Regions from separate parts of the Homo sapiens genome. Here regions 1 and 3 are each linked to region 2. Evidence: promoter capture Hi-C in 16 types of primary human blood cells and fetal thymus (Javierre and others, 2016). All regions are on one chromosome and are shown on one strand. The core of a region is centred on a gene start or on the middle of the fragment in contact, and the rest is flanking DNA. Distances in the headings are between cores, read along the strand shown.

Region 1 (3,431 bases), core at 135-2,634, 220 kb after region 2:
AATTTAATTATTTTTATGGATGAATAATATTCCACTGTGTACATGTACAACATTTTCTTTATTTATTCATCTATTTGGGGACACTTAGATTGATTCCAAATCTTGGCTATTGTGCACAGTGCTGCAATAAACATGGGAGCGCAGATATCTAATCAATACACTACTTTCCTTTATTTGGATGTATACCTACTAGTGGAATTGCTAGATCATATGGTAGTTCTATCTTTAGTTTTTTTGAGGAACCTTCAAACTACTCTCCATAGTGACTATACTAATTTACACTCCCAACAGTGTACGAGGGTTCCCCTTTCACCATATCCTCACCAGTATTTGTTATTGCCTGTCTTTTGAGTGAAAGCCATTTTAACTGGGGTGAGATGATATCTCATTGTAGTTTTCATTTGCATTTCTCTGATGATTAATAATGTTGAGCATTTTTTTCAAACACCTATCAATCATTTGTAGGTCTTCTTTGGAGAAATATCTATTTGGATCTTTTGCCCACTTTTTAATCCAATTACTTCATTTTTTCTGATCAAGTTGTCTGAGCTCCTTATATATTCTGGTTGTTAATCCCTTTCAGATGGGTAGTTTGCAAATATTGCCTTTCATTGTGTGAGTTGTCTCTTTACTTTGCTGATTGTTTCCTTTGCTGTGCAGAAGATTTTTAGCTGGATGTGATCTCATTTGTCCGTTTTTGCTTTGGTTGTCTGTGCCTTTGAGGTATTATTTGAGAAATCTTTGCCCAGACCAATGTCCTAGAGAGTTTTCCCAATGTTTCCTTTTAGTAGTTTCACAGTTGGGGTCTTAGATTTAAGTCTTTAATCCATTCTTACTTGATTATTGTATATGGCAAGAGATAGGGGTCTACTTTCATTCTTCTGCATATGGAGATCCTGTTTTCCTAGCTCCAAATATTGAAGAGACTTTCCTTTCCCCAGTGAATGTTCTTAGCACCTTTGTGAAAAATGAGTTCACTGTAGATGTCCCATAGGAATTTTTAGGGGTGTGCATTCAGCTATTCCTGTATGTTTTCCCATGGCTTCAGCTTCTATCTTATTTTGTGTCTTTCAATTTACATGCTTTTTATTTGCTTCTTTTTTCTTATTTCACATTTTTAATTGGATTGATTTCTTTTTAATTCTATTCTTTTTTTCCCTGAACTAGCATGAAGTTAAGTATACATCATGCACTCTTAAAATCTAGAACTCAGTAAAATCCCTAGACTTTTCCAAACCAATACAAAATCAGGTGTTTTCGTTCAATCTTGTTTTTTGTTGTTGTTGTTGTTTTGTTTTTTTTGTTTTGTTTTGTTTTGGTTTGCTTTGGTTTTTTTGAGACAGAGTTTCTGTCTGTTGCCAGGCTGGAGTGCAGTGGCGTGATCTCAGTTCACTGCAACCTTTGCCTCCCGGGTTCAAGCGATTCTCCTGCCTCAGCCTCCCAAGTAGCTGGGACTACAGGCACATGCCACCACGCCCAGTTAATTTTTATATTTTTAGTAGAGATGGGGTTTCACCATGTTGGCCAGGATGGTCTCGATCTCTTGACATCGTGATCCACCCGCCTCGGCCTCCCAAAGTGCTTGGATTACAGGCGTGAGCCAACACGCCTGGCCTCAATCTTGTTTTAAAACCCCCAAAATAGTAATTATTATTATTATTACTATAGTAATCAATACTTATTTAAATTCACCAACACATTTACCAGCTTCTTTGTTCACTTTACTGCTTCCCACCCTTCTTCTGGGATTTTTTCTAACTGATTTATTGAAATACAATTGACAAACAATAAACTGCCCATACTTAAAGTGAACAATTTTGAGAGGTTGTTATGTATATATGTATGCATCTGTGAAATCATCGCCGTGATTAAGAAAATGAACTTCAGGCTGGGCGTAGTGGCTCATGCCTGTAATCTCAGCACTTTAGGAGGCTGAGGTGGGTGGGTCACCTGAGGTCAGGAGCCAAGATCGCACCACTGCACTCCAGCCTGGGCAACAGAGTGAGACTCCATCTAAAACAAAACAAAACAAAATTCTAAAAATTTATATGAATAGTATAATACATACATACTCTTTTTGTCCATCTTCTTTCACTCAGCACAATTATTTTGAGATTCAGCCATGCTATTGCACATATAAAATTTATCCTTTTTATTGCCAAGGAGCATTTCCATTGTATGGATGTGCCACATTTAGTTTATTCATTCATCCATGGATTTGGGACATTAGGGTTACTTCTAAATAAATTGTGACTATTATAAATAAGGCAGCAATAAACATTTGTGTACAAATCTTTGCATGCACGTACGCTTTCATTTCTCATATAGTTCGGCTGTCTTCTCCAAATCTCATGTTAAAATGTAATTCCCAGTGTTGGAGGTGAGGCCTGAAGGTCAGAGATGTTTGGATCATGGGGGAGTATCCCTCATGAATGGCTTAGTGCCATTCCCTTGGTGATGAATGAGTTCACACAAGATCTGGTTGTTTAAAAGTGTGTGGCACCTCCCCACTGCACCCCACCACCTCTCTGTCTTACTCCTGCTCTTGCCATGTGATAGGCCAGCTTCCCCTTTGTCTTCTGCCATGATTGTAAGTTTCCTGAGGCCTCACCAGAAGCCAAGCAGATGCCTAGCGCCATGCTTCCTGTACAGCCTGCAGTACTGTGACTCAATTAAACCACTTTTCTTTATAAACTATCCAGTCTTGGGTACTTCTTTACAGCAACACACCAATAGCCTAATATAGGTACCTAGAAGTGGAATGGCTCAATATACGTTAGAGATACCTAGGTAAATTATTGAGAAACTGCCAAACTGTTTTCCAAAATGGCTATCATACTAGTCATTCTCACACTGCTATGAAGAAATACCTGGGACTGGATAATTTATAAAGAAAAGAGGTTTAAGTGGCTCACAGTACTGCAAGCTGTATAGGAAGCTTGGCTGCATCTGCTTCTGGGGAGGCCTCAGGGAGCTTTGACTCATAGTGGAAGGTGAAGGGGAAGCAGGCATGTCTTACATGGTTGAAGCAGGAGGAACAGAGAGAAGGCGGCGGTGCTACACACTTTTTAACAACCAGATCTCATGAGAATTCACTATCGTAATGACAGCTCCAAGGGAGATGATGTTAACCATGAGAAACAGTCCCTGTGATCCAATCACTTCCCACCAGATCCCACCTCCAACACCAGGGATTACAATTGAATGTGAGATTTGGGTGGGGACACAGATGAAAACCATCTCAGATGTACATTTGATATTCCCACCAGCAATATAAGAATTATCAAGACCAAATCTCCTTTGGATTGGTGTACCTGAAAGTGATGGGGAGAATGGAACCAAGTTAGAAAACATTCTTCAGGATACTATCCAGGAGAACATCCCCAACCTAGCAAGGCAGGCCAACATTCAAATTCAAGAAATGCAGAGAA
Region 2 (3,454 bases), core at 61-2,560:
GTAATCCCAGCTACTCAGGAGGCTGAGTCAGGAGAATAGCTTGAATCCAGCAGGCAGAGGTTGCAGTGAGCCAAGATCGCACCATTGCACTCCAGTCTGGGTGACAAGAGCGAGATCGGACTCAAAAAAAACAAAAAACAAAAAACAGACAAACAAAAAAAAACAAAAAACAAAGGAAAGACAGAGAATTCTACAGTGCCCCTTACCTACCTGGTGACTCTATTCTCTTAATATATAGCCTCTGTGACCTTAACACATGTCACTTGTCACAAGGTATATTTGCTGTGGGATTAAGACGTAACACCATCATATCTTGAGAGGAGACAAAATTCTATTAGAGAAGGGATTCTAAGTCCAATCCTAAATTAAATAAATCTGATACAATGAGACTAGCTTTGGGGGCCAGATAAACCTGGATTTGAACCCTAAATCTGCTACTTACTAGCTGTATAACGTTGGGCAATTTGCTTAACTTCCCAAAGTCTCGGTTTCTTAATCCATAGAATGGTCACAGTAATTCCACCATGTTGAGAAGACTGAATTTAAAAGTTTCTAAAGTAATGAGCTTCAGTATAAATCAGTGTAACTCAGCATTAGCTCTTAATAGCTGTTTGACCTAAATTATGTCACATGGCCTCTCTGAGCCTCATTTTCTCTCCTTTGTAATACAGGCATAACTATTCTGCCTATTAATCTCAAAGGTCACTGTAAGGAAACAGTAAAACGCTGTACAAATTATGTACAAGGATTTTCTCAACTGCACAGCACACCTGAAATTGTGAGGAGGTGCTAGGAGACCCCTGCTGGATTTGAAAAAACTGGCGATTGTCCCGGGTCTGAAGTCAAAAATGATCTTAGATCTCCACTTTTGCCATTTAATGTTGTTGTATGATCTTGAGCGAATGATCTAACCTCTCTGAGCCTCCACTTTCCCTACTATCTAGTGGGGTTAATAGGACAGACATCACTTTCTGCAGCAAAGTGTTAAGGCACGTGGTAAGTGCTCAATAAATGTTGGCTGAATCTGGATCTCTCTGGCTGAGACAAATCTCTCCATCCGCAAGGTGGGAAAACTGCGCGTGGTCGCCATGTGGCGCTCAGGTAGAGGAGATGCTCCCGGGGGCACCGGGCTCCGGCACCTCCCCACTCCCCCGCCCACCCGCCCGTTGCCATGGCCACCGGTTCAGGCTGGGAGCAGCACTAAGGCGTGTTCCGCCCAATCCCCGCCCTTCTAGGGTGACCATTGGCTGGAGCGGCCACGTGACGCGCGCTGGTATGCTAATATATGGTAATAGCGCCCTCGCCCCTCCTCCGCGGGCAGCGTCCGAGCAGCCAGCAGGGTGCGCGGCGCCGAGCCGAGGGGGCGGGCTGAGGGGCGGCCCCCGGGAGAGAGCGGCCAGGTGGAGGAGGAGCGCGGAGGCGACCGCAGGTAACGGGCGGGCGCGTGCGCGCTGGGGCCAGCTCGCGGCTGACGGGCAGCGCGCGGGGGACACCGGCCGCCGCGCTGCCGGCTTAACCCTTTGGGCACCCAGCTGTCACGGTCGGGCCGGAGCGCTCGGCCGGGACGGGCCGCGCGGGGCGGGGCATTGCCATGGGCACGGACAGGCGGGCGGCAGGCGGCCTGACCCCTGGTCCGCGGCGTGGGGCCCGCGCTGGGAGCCCGCAGTCCCGGCCGGCGACCGGCAGAGCGCGGCGCCCCCGGGCCGGGAACGCGCAGCGAGGAGGGCTGCGGAGAGCCTGGGGCCGAGGCTTGCCGGGAACGGGAACCGGAACGGGAACGGGCCAAGGTCCCGTCAGTGACTCGCTTTCTCCGGGGACCGACCCCCCTCCTGCGGAGAGGCCCGCGCCGCGGCAGCCCGTGGTCTTGCGCGGCCTGCGCCTGCTCCGCTTGTCCCGCAGAGTGCGGTGAGACCCGGGCGTCGGGCCTGACCGGGGCGCCCGCTCCCCAGCCGCGGCGTGACAGCGCAGCCGCTGGCACTTTCGGCCCAGAGTCAAGCGTGGCGTGGGGGGCACCAGCAGAGGGAACCGGGGGTTGCTGGAACTGGGAGGAGAGAACAGTCGTCTAAAGGAAAAGCGGGCCCCAAGGTTGGAGAAGGAGGGATGCCCTAGAAAGGCGCTGGTCCCTTGTTTTCTGTGCTGAGTGATGACCTGACACCCATGGGAAAAGGTCGCTGCTGGACACCTGGATCGGGTCTGTCATACACGGAGGAAGCGGCTGTTCTACGTGAGTGTCTAACAAATTTCTTATAAGGCGAGGTTTAAATTCATCTTCCCCCCTCCCCAGGTCTGCTACAGAAGTGTCTTCTTGTAATTATCCCCCTCCCCCAATTCACTAAGACTGGTGGCAGCTTTAGGCTCACAGTGTAATTTAGCTTTTGCGACAATAGAAATGGTAGGAGGAGAGATGCGCCACTGATACTAAGCTTGCCCTGGGAGTTTCTTGGAAGTGTGGGGTAAAAAATATTTCTATCACCAGTGGGGATGAAAAATCGGCTAATGCGCCCGTGATATCAATAGAGTTTCTTTTGTGAGTCTAAAGTCGTTCCTTCTAAATCAAGAGAAAATGCGGTTACAATTGAAAAGTACCAGAAACCAATTTGATTTTGCAAGTGAAGTGCAAATTCCACTTCCACGTTGCTCTTGATGTCTTTTATCACCCAACAACAAATACTTGGCATATGCCAGGCACTCTGCTATGTCTTGGGGATGCAAAGATGAATAAGATAATTAGTCCTTGTCCTGAAAGAAGTGGTAGGAGAAACAAATGAAATTGCTAGTAAAAGTGATTAACAGCATAATAGATGTGAATGCAAAGGGCTTTGGAAGCACAGAGGAGGGAACAATTAGCTGTCTGAGAGGACCAGGGAAGGCTTTCCAGAGAACACATTTAAGCAAGGTGTTGAAGGATAAATAGGAGTTTACCTTGCAGAGAAAATTGGAAAGGACTGAAAAGGCAGCCAAAGCGGGGGAACAGCGAATGCAGCCACATAAAGAATATGTTATCTCTAGGGAATGGCTTTCTATTGTAACTATGGCTTTTTTTCCTTCCTCTGTAATGTAACTTTCTAAAAGTAGCCTAGAATTTCTTATTCCCAGCACAGTTGTCCAGTGATATTTTTCTTATTGTTTTCTCCCCCATATTTTCCCCTCATCAGTTTTTCTGAGCCTCATTCCTGGTCTTTGTCACCCATATCTTCCCAAGTAAGGGTCCATCATGTGGAGGTTGAATAGGAGTAGTTTTCAGTTGCTCCAAGGGAGAGGGCCTGAAACTGGGCATAATGTTTGGCACTAGAGGCAGCATCTGAGAGGGGCAAATCTAAATCATACAAAAAGAGAATACATGACCATAACTAGGGAAGCAATGCTGAATGTCAAATTTGTGAGACCTGGGGAAATAAGTAGTAAGATCAGAAGCTGGAAGGATCTGGATTAAGAGAGGATTGGAGTGTGAGAT
Region 3 (3,252 bases), core at 158-2,657, 130 kb after region 2:
AAGGGTGGGGAACAAAAAGAAAACTCAACAGAGAGGTTCAAAGTGCTCTGAGATCGTCTTTGGATGCCACCAAAACAGTCCAGAATCTTGCAGTTGGCCTGGCCGCCCCCGGACTGGACCAGGCAGGGCTTCTGCGGACCAAGCTTTCTGGAAGATTGGGAAGGTCGTGAGAGAGCTTGGTGGTTCCTGGAGGGCCCCCGGAGGGAGCTGGGGCCTGGTGCTGCCTGGGTCTGTGTCTGCCAGTGGGCCGGGTGGGGCGGCGCCTCCAGTGGGCTCAGATGAGAGAGATTCGCACCGGGATGCCGGGGGACTCCGTCCTCTGGGGCGAGTGATGGCTCACCAGGTGCTCCACCACCGTGTGTTTGGACATGTGCTTCATCAGGTAGGTCTCCTGTGGGCAGGGATGAGATTCAGAACAGGGAACCACCAGCAAGGGAGGGAGAAGAGGCTGCAGTTCCCACCAGCAGCCACTGGAGGGCTCTTGGTAGGCGGTTCAGAGGGTGGAGGACAGCCACAGTTTTGCAGGGTCAGATGGGCGTCGGCCATTGGTTCTAGAGACACTGCACTGCTGCCAGTATGAGTGCTGGCTGGAGAGCTCACCCCTCAGCAATGCCCACCTGTGGCTCTCCAGGGCCAGGCCCCCAGGCCCTTGCCACCTGGATGTAGCTGGGTATACTGGCTGAACCTCAGCCCTGTCTGCCAGGTGAAGCACTGTGCCTGCATCTGGCTGGTGATCCCAGTGACAGTGAGGCAGCAGGACTGGGTCTGAGCCTAGCTCTGCTCTTTCTTAGTGGTGAGAACTTGGACAAGTCATCTTGTCTCTCTGAGCCTCAGTTTCCTCCTCTGTAAGCAGGCATAGGGGAGGAACAACCTCAACAGGTTGCTGTGGTGACAAAGATCAAGCCCTTAGCATGGAGTAAGGGTTGAAGGGTCCACTCCTGCCCCAGTCTCTACATTTCCTTTCCTTCCTTTTCTTAAGGTCTCACTGTGTCGCCCAGGCTGGAATGCTGTGGCACAATCACAGCTCACCACAGCCTCAACCTCCTGGGCTCAAGCAGTTCTCCCACCTCAGCCCTCCAAGTAGCTGGGACTACAGGTGGGTACTATCATGTCCTCCACTGGCTCTGCTGGATCTGACCTGAGGCACCAGGACTGGGTAGGTGAGGTTGTGACCCAGGGCTCACTGCAGGCCCAGAAGCCCTCACACTAAGCCACATCCTTCCAATCGCCTTTGCCAGAAGCAGAGGCGGTACTCCCACCTGCCACTCCTTGACTTCAGACCTCAATATGCTCAGAACCCAGCAGAGGAAGCCCTCAAATGTGGCGGCAACATGCTATCCAATACCAGAGGGAAGCAACCTGCAAATTCCTAGCTAGGAAACTATTCTTCAGTGAATAAATAACAAAGAAAAAAAGTGGGGGTAAGGGGACCTAGAGATTAAAAGATCTACTGAGCTACTACGATGCAGGAATCTTATTTGGATCTTGATCTAAAAAGAATAATGTAGGCTGGGCACGGTGGCTCATGCCTATAATCCCAGCACTTTGGGAGACTGAGGCGGGCGGATCACCTGCGGTCAGGAATTCGAGACCAGCCTGGCCAACATGGTGAAACCCCGTCTCTACTAAAGATACAAAAACATTAGGTGGCCATAGTGGCACATGCCTGTATTCCCAGCTACTCGGGAGGCTGAGGCAGGAGAATCGCTTGAACCTGGGAGGCGGATGTTGCAGTGAGCTGAGACTGTGCCACTGCACTCCACCTGGGTGACAGAGCAAGACTCCGTCTCAAAAAAAAAAAAAAAAAGAGGAATCATGTAAATACACCAAATCATGGCATTCGTGACACAAATGAAAATGTCAATGCTGAACGGGTATTTGAGTATCTGATGATGATAAGGACTTTGGTTAATTACTTTTTGATATTCCAAAGGTATTGTGGATATGCTCAAAAAAGGAGTCTTTATCAGAGAGATAAAGTGCAATTTTTAGAAATAGTATGATGTCTGGATTGTACTTCAAAAAATAGGAGTATGGATGAGGCAGGATTGGTTGATGGTGTAGGAGGTTATGGAAAACTTGAGCCTTGGAGAGAGGCAGGGACTGACTGGAGATCAGCTAGCCAAGCGAGGGCTCCTGCTCACCCCTTTGGAGCCCTTTTCCCTGCAGATTCTGTCCTCTTCGCCTCCTGACCCTCCTCTGCCCTTTGAACTCCAGGGAAGAATAAATGTTACAGACTCAGCACTTAGCAAGTGGCAGCCCTGCCCGGCACCTGACAAGTACTGCCAACAACCCCACCTATGATCCATGAACAGCCTCCAGCCAGAGTGACCTTGCAAAAATACCTTCCCTGCCAGGCACAGTGGTGCACACCTGTAGCCCCAGCTACTCTGGAGGTTGAAGCAGGAGGATCCCTTGAGCCCAGGATTTTGATTCCAGCCTGGGCAACATAGCAAGACCCCGTCTCTAAAATATACCAAAAAAAAAAAAAAAAAACCCTTCCTGACAGTCCCCTCCCTGTAGCTTCCCATTCCACCTGAAAAAATATCCAAACTTTTCTAACAGAGCCCCAAGGCCCCAACTGACCTAATTTCCTTTGAGTTCTTGTAACGTGCCAAGTTTGTTACCCCTCAGGGGGTTCGCACTCAGTGTTCGCCTGCATGGAAGCTTCTTTCCCCTCTTTCTCCTCCTCATCCAATTATCCTTCAAGGCTTCACCTAAGTGTTGCTCCTCCAGGTGGTCAATCTGGACTCATCCCCCTTCCCAGCTCCATTGTGTCCTCCCTGCTGTCTTTCAAAACACACTTTTATCACAGTGGTTCTCAATTGAGGTGATTTTGCCCCCCAGGGACAAAGAGCCAGGATGAGAACCCAGGAGTGGCAGGGACAAAAGGAGCTCCCAGGGAGGACACAGAGGGACAGAGCTTCAGGGCCATGCTGTCCCCCAGGATGCAGGACTCCAGAATGCAGGACGGCATGGCCCTGCAGCTCAGCCCCTCTGTGTCATCCCTGAAGACATTTTTTGGCTGTCACCACTTGGGGAGCGGTTGCTACTGGCATCTAGCGGATGGAGGCCTGGAATGCTGCTCAGAGCCCTGCCACGTGCAGGCCAGCGCCCACAGTGGAAAGGTCCGGCCCAAATGTCCATCTGGACTAGGGCCGAGAGTCTCTGCTTTACAGCAGCTACACAATTTCCCGTCAAACAGTTACGTGTGTACTTGTTTAATACTTGTCTCCAACAGTTCTTAATTTC

The links. Contacts are between HindIII fragments. The CHiCAGO score rates a contact against its expected background, and 5 or more counts as called.
Region 1: a contact is called between a fragment that was not itself captured here and the fragment with the promoter of PHC2 in region 2, in 1 of 17 cell types (megakaryocytes). The highest score is 6.9, in megakaryocytes.
Region 3: a fragment that was not itself captured here is called in contact with the fragment with the promoter of PHC2 in region 2 in 11 of 17 cell types (naive B cells, M0 macrophages, monocytes and 8 more); the score reaches 9.6 in naive B cells.

The regions. Positions count from the first base shown.
Region 1 is chr1:33,211,749-33,215,179 of GRCh38, reverse strand. It overlaps a transcript of ZNF362 not described here. Among named protein-coding and RNA genes, the nearest start is that of TRIM62, 31 kb to the right of the region's middle. RefSeq lists a silencer at 3,040-3,099. The HindIII fragment of the contact is 3,112 bases long and covers 1-2,940 here.
Region 2 is chr1:33,428,951-33,432,404 of GRCh38, reverse strand. It overlaps PHC2 (polyhomeotic homolog 2), which reads left to right and starts at 1,310. Exons shown (of 15, transcript NM_001385109.1): 1 at 1,310-1,429. RefSeq lists a silencer at 1,107-1,626. The HindIII fragment of the contact is 9,079 bases long and covers 1-2,425 here.
Region 3 is chr1:33,296,069-33,299,320 of GRCh38, reverse strand. ZNF362 (zinc finger protein 362) reads right to left here. Exons shown (of 9, transcript NM_152493.3): 9 at 1-391. The coding sequence ends at 275. Among named protein-coding and RNA genes, the nearest start is that of A3GALT2, 23 kb to the left of the region's middle. RefSeq lists a silencer at 370-550. The HindIII fragment of the contact is 2,524 bases long and covers 146-2,669 here.